Regions from separate parts of the Homo sapiens genome. Here regions 2 and 3 are each linked to region 1. The links are contacts of gene promoters, found by promoter capture Hi-C in blood cells and fetal thymus (Javierre and others, 2016). All regions are on one chromosome and are shown on one strand. The core of a region is centred on a gene start or on the middle of the fragment in contact, and the rest is flanking DNA. Distances in the headings are between cores, read along the strand shown. Region 1 holds the start of CPQ (carboxypeptidase Q). Region 2 has its middle 88 kb from the start of MTDH. Region 3 overlaps LOC101927066 (a long non-coding RNA gene).

What was found. The method cuts DNA at HindIII sites, captures the fragments that hold promoters and counts their contacts. A CHiCAGO score of 5 or more calls a contact.
Region 2: a fragment that was not itself captured here is called in contact with the fragment with the promoter of CPQ in region 1 in 3 of 17 cell types (M2 macrophages, M1 macrophages and M0 macrophages); the score reaches 10.1 in M2 macrophages.
Region 3: a fragment that was not itself captured here is called in contact with the fragment with the promoter of CPQ in region 1 in 1 of 17 cell types (M2 macrophages); the score reaches 5.1 in M2 macrophages.

The regions. Positions count from the first base shown.
Region 1 is chr8:96,643,796-96,646,667 of GRCh38, forward strand. CPQ (carboxypeptidase Q) reads left to right here and starts at 1,447. Exons shown (of 8, transcript NM_016134.4): 1 at 1,447-1,607. RefSeq lists a silencer at 1,322-1,871. The HindIII fragment of the contact is 6,363 bases long and covers 1-2,872 here.
Region 2 is chr8:97,554,472-97,557,343 of GRCh38, forward strand. No RefSeq gene overlaps it. Among named protein-coding and RNA genes, the nearest start is that of MTDH, 88 kb to the right of the region's middle. The HindIII fragment of the contact is 6,759 bases long and covers 1-2,872 here.
Region 3 is chr8:97,255,181-97,258,052 of GRCh38, forward strand. The region is part of intron 2 of LOC101927066 (a long non-coding RNA gene); the gene reads right to left. Among named protein-coding and RNA genes, the nearest start is that of TSPYL5, 21 kb to the right of the region's middle. The HindIII fragment of the contact is 1,457 bases long and covers 654-2,110 here.

The sequences.
Region 1 (2,872 bases), core at 197-2,696:
TTCACATTAAACATGAGAAAAGGCCCAGAAGTTGAAAAGCATTTGACATAATTAAAGAACAGCAAGTCAGTGCCACTTAAACGGTAATCCAACCACCGCCAGTCAGTGAACAGCTTTTTACTGCTCCATGAACAGGTAAGTATAGAAATTGTGAGTAAGCATTTAGAAATAAAAACAACAACAACAACCAATAATTGAAAAACTAATTTTATACTTTTTGGCATACTCATTGTACACTTGTAATAAAAACTGGGCTTGTAGTTTTTGTCTCTTTTCTTATTTGCTAGCAGGTTTTGATTTGTATTTTACAGAAATAATGGTCCATGTCAGATTGGAAATAATAAAAACTTGTCTTTTACCCTTGATAGTTTGAGAAAAAAGTAATTCAGTGGGGTTAGATATGGCATCCGAGAGATGATTCGGGAAAGGTGGGCCAGGGCCATGTTTATGTGGACCCTCCAATGCCTCAGAGTTCACACTTGTTTCAGTGGGCAACAGGACTAGTAAGGTTTAGAGGGACTGTTAACCGAAGGTGAGTGGACTTTGCACATTTTATGGTATTTTTTTTTTCCCAGTAGGCATGTGCTTATTCTTTCTTTTCTTTTCTAATTAAAAGTTCTGTTTGGTTTTTTTAGTTAAGAGGAGAGACTGGAACTGCTCAGTGTTTCACAAAGATAACTGTTTGTATTTGATAAGAGTTTCGTTAAACAAAGGAATTTGCACTTATCAAAACATAAAGCATTGAAAACACTGAGCACATACTCTGTGACCAGAATGCGTGTGACTTGTTGAGATAAGCCACACCGGGTAATCAGATGAGTCTCCTTTCTTCTTGGGCACCCTCATATAATTCAGGCACAAACGAAAGAGAAAACGCTTTTTCTGATCTCTCAGTTCGGGTCATCTCTGCCTTCCATCATCACCGCCTAACAATCCTACACCTGGCAGGGTGGGAAAACGGTTTAATAATCTCTTCCCTTTGGGAGGCGTTTGACAGCTCAGAAAGCATGGCCTTTACTCAGGCTCAGAGACACACAAAAACCTTTCACGTTTTCCTTTCAGCTTCGCAGCCCCGTCCTTCTCCACCTGCACGGGCACCCACTGAAGCACAGGACCCTTCTGCCAAGCCATGAGCCTTCTCAGGCCCCTGCCGCCCGCCTCGCCTGAGGCTGCGCTTCTGAAAAGCACGCGGCCCTGGCCTGCGCACCACCCAGTCTGAAGGCGACGCCCCTGCACGAAGGAGTCAGGCCTAGGGGCTCGGGACCCAGGGCGACACTCAATTTTCTAACAGGAGCCACAGCCCAGAAGCTGAGAAGCCTTCCGGCCGATCTGTGGCCCTGAGGTCGCCCTTGGAGGGCGAGTGAGAACCCCCCAGGCGTTCCGGAGGTGGCCCCCAGCCCGAACCCGGCGCCCGCCCCGGCTTCCCGAGTCAGGTCTTTGCCCCGCCTCTCGGCCCCGCGGCCTGGCCGGCAAGCAGGGCTGCAGTCACGGGGCGGCGCGGAGGGCCCCAGCCCAGTCAGGGGTGTGGCCGCCGCCACCGTAAGGCTAGGCCGCGAGCTTAGTCCTGGGAGCCGCCTCCGTCGCCGCCGTCAGAGCCGCCCTATCAGGTGTGTTTGCAGCCGAACTGGCAGTGCCCGCGGGCGGCTGGGCCGAGGCCTTGGCTCCTACCCGCGGGGGTCGGGCGGGCTGAGGCTGGAGCAGGCCAGGGGCGGGGGCAGAGGGGGACGGACTTCCAGCATCGCTCATTCGGGGGCGTGACGGGAGGACCTGGCTGGGGAGCGGCGGGTTGGGAGCCTGTGGCTGCCCCTTCGGTGACAGTGGAGTCACCGAGCCTAGAAATGGGGAAGCTGTGACGTGGGGGTGGTGGAGGGTGCTGCGGGACAGCAGCGAGCACGGCCCTCAGCCGTCCTTCCCAACACGGTTTCACTTCCCCTCAGCTCCAGGGCTCAGCCCCAAGCCGCCCCCTTCATCCCCCATCTGCAAACAATCCTGGTCCCCCTGAGCCTCCAATATGCCTTATGCAGTTCTTTTGGGGTTCCTTTCGCATTTTACCGTGTACTTTCGCTTTTGATGCGTCTAGTTTCTGCTACTGGACTCTCCTAGAATCGAAGTTCCATGAGGGCAAAGTCCCATCTGACTTAGGACTCAGAGCTACTCAATAAGTAATTGAATGAGTACCTATGCCGTAGAACTGAGTGAATTAACAAATGAGTAAGTGAATAAATGAGTGCATACGAGATACAGCTGAATCAATCAGTGCATGAGTGAAAATAAAGATGTATGAAGTGGAAGCAGTGGAGACGCAGGCTTACAACTCCTGTTTTTTGATAGCTTTCCAAAAAGTTGTGTGAATGTCGCACTTTTGCAAATGGAGGCATTCTGATTGGGACCACTTAAAAAGAGTTCTATGCTGTTCAAATGGTCTCTGGAAACGCCCCCTGGTATTTCCATTTTTGTTGGACTTGGCTATATGTGTTTGCTTAAAACAAAATATGCCTAGGTTTTTTCTTGCTTGTGTTTTGTTCACTTCTACTTTGGACGTTTAAAGAATCATTGTCACTATAATATTATTTCATGTATTTCTTAAAGATAAGGGTGACTCTGAAGGCAGAACCATATGACTCTGACTTGTTTGTAAAACCAGGCTTTTCTTTTGAATTCAGAGTTGTTAAGAATCTTGTCTGTTTTCCTGAGACAGGTGCTGGCTGATTTGCAGGTGACTGAAGAAGGCTACATAAGGCCCAGAAAGACGCTTATCTGTTTGTAAACAAATAGGCTTAGCACATAGCTTTAATACAGTTGGTCACTGCAGCCGTTCTTACTTGCCAGGTCCAGGTTCCAGAAGAGCTGGATGACCTTGGACTTGCCACTT
Region 2 (2,872 bases), core at 167-2,666, 910 kb after region 1:
CCAGCACTTTAGGAGGTCGAGGTGGGCAGATCACCTGAGGTCAGGAGCTCGAGACCAGCCTGGTCAACATGGTGAAACCCAGTCTCTACTAATAATACAAAAATTAGCCGGGCATGGTGGCACATGCCTGTAATCCCAGCTACTAGGGAGGCTGAGGCAAGAGAATCGCTTGAACCCAGGAGGCAGAGGTTGCAGTGAGCCAAGATGGCGCCATTGCACTCCAGCCTGGGCGACAAGAGTGAAACTCCGTCTCTAAAAAAAAAAAAAGAAGTTAAAGACCCTGTTTCCCTGTGCCACATCCTGGAGCCTCCTGGCCTTGGTTTCATCAACTGCAAATATAAATATATATCATTACTTTTATTTTGAAAGACTGTTGTGTGTTTAGTTAACAAACACTTACTAAGCCCCTACTATGTGTAAGGCAGTGTACTGATGACTCCATGAGGAACAGTTTCAAGTCTGAAAATGAGATTACTACACAGAGCATGATGCACTATACAGACGTGCTTCTATAGGAAAATTAATAATGAATCATTGGGAGATAGTACTTTAAGAAAGACAACATTGACCAGGTGCAGTGGCTCACACCTGTAATCCCAGCACTTTGGGAGGCTGAGGTGAAAGGACCACTTGAGCCCAGGAGGTCAAGGTTGAAGTGAGCTATGAGTGCCACTGCACTCCAGCCTGGGTGACGGAACAAGACTCTGTCTTCAAAAAAAAAAAAGAAGAAAGAAAGACTGAATACAGGCCCAGAACCTCTTACTCACATTTCTGAAATCCAAAAAATTCTGAGAACCTATTTTTCTTTTAATGTATTTGGCATCAAAATTTATTTGGTGGCAAAGCCTGACCTGAGGTGAATGACACCACCAACAGTCGTCATTGGTCCTGCTGAGTGTGACTATTCATGTTTTTCTACACAAATATTAATGTGTTTGGTGAAAAGGTGCTTGCTCAGGCTGTGCTGGGGGTGTTACATAATATATAACATGTGCACTGTTTTGCCTTTCTGAAACCCAAAATAATCTGAATTCCAAAACGTATATGGCCCTGAGGGTTTTGGATAAGGTATTGTGGACCAGAATATGTAAATTCTCAGGGAATTGAGCAAAACTGGAGCTAACACCTTCACACTATAAGCATTCATTATTCCTCATTTGCATCTTGTACCGTGCCCAGCAAACTGTGAGCTTACGAGATAAATAGGGAAAGATGGGAGTGTGAGTTTGCATGTAGGGCATGTGGATTTTGTCCCTTCAATAGCACAGGTAGCCTCTGTCCAAAGAAACCAGTCACTGTTTACATCCATCTCCCAGAAAGGAAAGAAGAGAAACTTAATCAGAGATGTGGCCCAGTCCCTCTCTGTAGCCCCAGGTACTGGAAGCAGCCCTCCTGCTGGAAATGACACTTCTCTCCAGTTCCAGCGAGCAGGAACCCACTTCAACTCACCCGGTTTGCACGTTCTGTTCTCCAACTTTCTTCATGCCCATTCAGCCCAGCAGGCTCAGACGGAGAGGAACGGCTCCTGCATCCTTGGGTCTAGTCTCCGCCAAGTTGGCGGTGGAGGCAGAGGAAGGCGTGGTGCTCTTACCCTGTTGTTTAATGTGCAGAAGATTTTATGGGAGCCATGGATTAATCGGCTCAAAAAATACGAAGAGATATTTATGGTAAGTTCAAGTTTCACAACCACTCAAGAGGTTTTTCACTTCAAAGGATTTTAGTTCAAACCAGAGCTCGATGTCTCATTACCACAAACTTCGATCTTTTGGCCTTCAAAGGTCTTGTCTCCTTGACTCAATTCTTCACTTCAATTTATTTGTTTGAAAATATATACTGAACCTGTATCACGTGCCAAGTGCTGTGCTGGGTGATGGAAATATACACACAAATAAGACATGGCCCCTGCCTGGGAAAAGTCATGGTCCAATAAGGGAGACACTGTTGGACAACAGGCTGTCTCCAATCACTTTATGAGCAAAAGCTACTTTTCTTTTACCTAAGTTTGTGGCTGAAAGCAGAGGTCAGGGCAGGACGTGATGGCTCACGCCTGTAATCCCAGCATTTTGGAAGGCTGAGGCAGGTGGATTACTTGAGTCCAGGAGTTGAAGACTGGCCTGGCCAACATGGTGAAACCCCCTCTCTACTAAAAATTCAAAACAAATTAGCCAGGTGTGGTGGCTCGTGCCTGTAATCCCAGCTACATGAGGCTGAGGCAGGAGAATCGCTTGAACCCGAGAGGTGGAGGTTGCAGTGAATGGAGATCATGCCACTGAGAGGTGACAACATGCTAGCAGCCCTCGCTCGCTCTGGGCGCCTCCTTGGCCTCGGCGTCCACTCTGGCCGCGCTTGAGGAGCCCTTCAGCCCGCCGCTGCACTGTAGGAGCCCCTCTCTGGGCAGGCTGAGGCCGGAGCCAGCTCCCTCTGCTTGCAGGCCGGTGTAGAGGGAGAGGAGTGGGCGGGAACCGGAGCTGCGCAGGGCGCTAGCGGGCCAGCGCGAGTTCCGGGTGGGCGCGGGATCCGCAGGCCCCACACTCACAGCGGCCCGCCAGCGCTGCTGGCCGCGGGCAGTAAGGGGCTTAGCACCCGGGCCAGCAGCTGCAGAGGGTGCGCCAGGTCCCCCAGTACTGCCCGCCCGCCCGCGCCGCGCTTGAATTCTCGCCGGGCCTCAGCCGCCTCCGCAGGGCAGGGCTCGGCACCTGCAGCCGGACATGCGCGAGCCACCCCTCCTCCCCGGCAATTGGCTCCTGCGCTGCCCTAGCCTCCCGGACACACACCGCCCCTGCTCGGCGGCGCCCGGTCCCATCAACCGCCCAAGGGCCATCTCTGTAAAATGAACCAATCAGCTCTCTGTAAAATGGACCAATCGGCTCTC
Region 3 (2,872 bases), core at 132-2,631, 610 kb after region 1:
AGCTCTTTATTCTCTTAAGGAGTAAGGCTCCCTCTTACGGAGTTTCTATCAAGTTTCCTAACCATTAGGCCACAAGATTACTCTTGTGGCTTCTCCATGTGCCATTTTACCCCCTGCCATAGAACATGTGTCTCAAAAGGGACACCAGGACCTAACTCTCCCCTACACTGGGATGAATTCCTGACCCCCACAGGACAGCCTTCACCTCCTTACCTTGCATCATAAGTCAAGCCCAGCATCTCGTGGTCTGACTCCAAATACCAATGCACTTATTCTCCAAAGAGTCTGGAATCTTACAAATCTGTCTTGGCATCCCAGAGTGACCCCATACTCACCTTCTGATAACACTTTACACCCTCCAAAGAATCTTTATGCAAGATAAAAGATGTTTGACTCAGAAAGATGTTCTCTCCTAAGGATATTTTGACTCCTAAGAATAATACCATTAAAACCAAAATTATGTCATAATGAATACATTTTTGTACTGAAAGGATTTTCTGGAAAAAACTCCATTAAGTCCATTTGACTCCTTGATCAACCTTCTTAAAATAGCCTAGTTAAATCCTCTTTAATTTTTCCCATTTTCATTCATATTTTATTTCACAGAAGTTATTTGATTGGGATTAATTTTTTCCTGTGTCAGTTTTATATAAAGCTTTGATGCATTACTCAATTGGTTTATTTATATCAAATATTATGGTTGTAACTTTTGCCCTTGAAAACTTACTATATAGACATTGTTCTACAAAGTTCAATATTCCCAAGTCAGACTGCACAGATTAGATTTTAACTACTAAAGGCTTTAAATTCTGTTGATCATTTCTACCAGTGATATTCACTATATAAAAAAGCTGAGAATGGTGTCTCTTTCACAGCAAAGCTACACACTCATGTCCTTAGTTAGATCTTCCAGAGTAGGCCTTTCATTTATGGCTGGATTGTAGTACAGCGAGTGAATAAGGCATGAGCTCTGGAATTGAACTGTCTGGGTTAACTTGGGCAAATATTTAATTTCTCAGTTTTCCCATTTGTGAACTGGGGTCAATATTAGTACCTAAACCACAGGGTTCTTGTGAGGATTAAAGCAGAATTCACACAAAGTGCTTCACATAGTACATTGCATGCAGTGTAAGATGTGATAGCTCTTGTTATTACTCCAACCACCTTAAAAATTCTCTGTTATCTATTACTACAGTTAACAAACCAGCCCAAAACCTGATGGCTTAAAATAACAGCAATTTATCACTCAATAATATTTAATTGTATGGGTACAACACATTTTGCTTATCTGTTCATCAGTTAATGGACATTTAGATTGTTTTCACCTTTTGGCTATAGTGAATAGTGCTTCTATGAACATTGCATACATGTATTTGAGTGCAAAAAGAAATGAAGTAGCGATATATGCTACAACATGGATGAACACTGAAGACATTATGCTAAGTGAAGGAAGCCAGTCACAAAAGTGTCTCCATAGAGACAGGAAGCAGATGGGTGGTTGCCAGGAGTTAGAGGGGGCAGGGAATGAGAAGTGACTGCTTACTGGATACAGGGTTTGCTTTTGGAGTGATGAAAACGTTTTAGAACTAGAAAGAGGTGGTGGTTGCACAACATTATAAAGATACTAAATGCCATGAATTGCATACCTTAAAATAGTGAATTTTCTGTTATGGTGTATTTCACCTCAATTTTAAAAATCATCATAACAGCAATTTATTATTTCTCGTGACTCTGTAGGACAGCTGGGAGGCTCTGCTGGCTTCACCTAGGCTCCATTCAGCAGGAGAATTGGCTGGGAGGGCAGGTCCTCTCTTTCACCTGGTCTCTCATCCTCAAGAAGGCCAGTTGGAGCTTCAAGCAAATCCCTGTGAGCAAGCACTTACCAAGTCTCTGCTTGGGTTATGTTAGCTGATGTCACATGGACCAAAACAGGACACATGGCTAGGCCCAGAGTCAGTGTGGAAGAACACTACACAAGGGCATGGTATCAGAAAGTATGATTCATTGGGGGCCATTATTGTGATAATCTCTACAAGCATCATTCTAATCATCTACCCCAACCTGACTTGGTCTGAAATGACTCCTACATCCTGACTAACATGGAATAGAAAGCTTGGGCTGCATGGCTTTAGAAGAGTAAGATGCAAGTCTCAAATGTATTCAGAGTCCTCAGAATGAAAGGAAACTCAGCTTCTTTCAGCATTCCTTTTTTTCCAGAGTTCCCCCCGTATTTAAGTTCAATGTTTTTGATCAGAGACCTCTTGTTATGATGAATTTAATCTGAAACAACTGAATGAAGGGCAGTGGTGATGCAACACAATGATCATCTTCACAGTGTCCAATTGTAAGTGCTCCGGAGTCACCACCCTGACATTCCTGGGGAGTTAGTCCTATCAGAAAGGGCTGGTGGCAGCTCTATTGGGAGGGGCTCCCACAGCCAGAGCTGCCTGGTAGACAGAGTACCCACAGTGCCCTTAAAGACAACTGTTGTTTATGGAAGACACCTGCACCCACTACCTTACTTTAACCCTGCAAGCTGGTACTATCATGATCCCCATTTTGCAGATGAAGAAAGTGGTAGGACAGGAGATGCACTGCCCAAATGCCCTTTCTGGAGGGAAGGACTTGCCTCCAGCTGTCAGCTCCTTCAGAGTGTGCTTGCCATAGACAGCTGCTTTGCCCAAGGGCATCTCTTTCCTTTCCGGGTAGCCCAAATGCAACAGCTAACAGTGGCAGGGGTACAAAGACCCATGACAGGACACCTCTGAGGGCTGCGTATGCTCCACAGCTCCCAATAGGGTTTGCTGATCAACTTCTCCCTCTGTCCCATTCTACCCCCTCCCCCTACAGTTTACACATGTTGATCCATAAT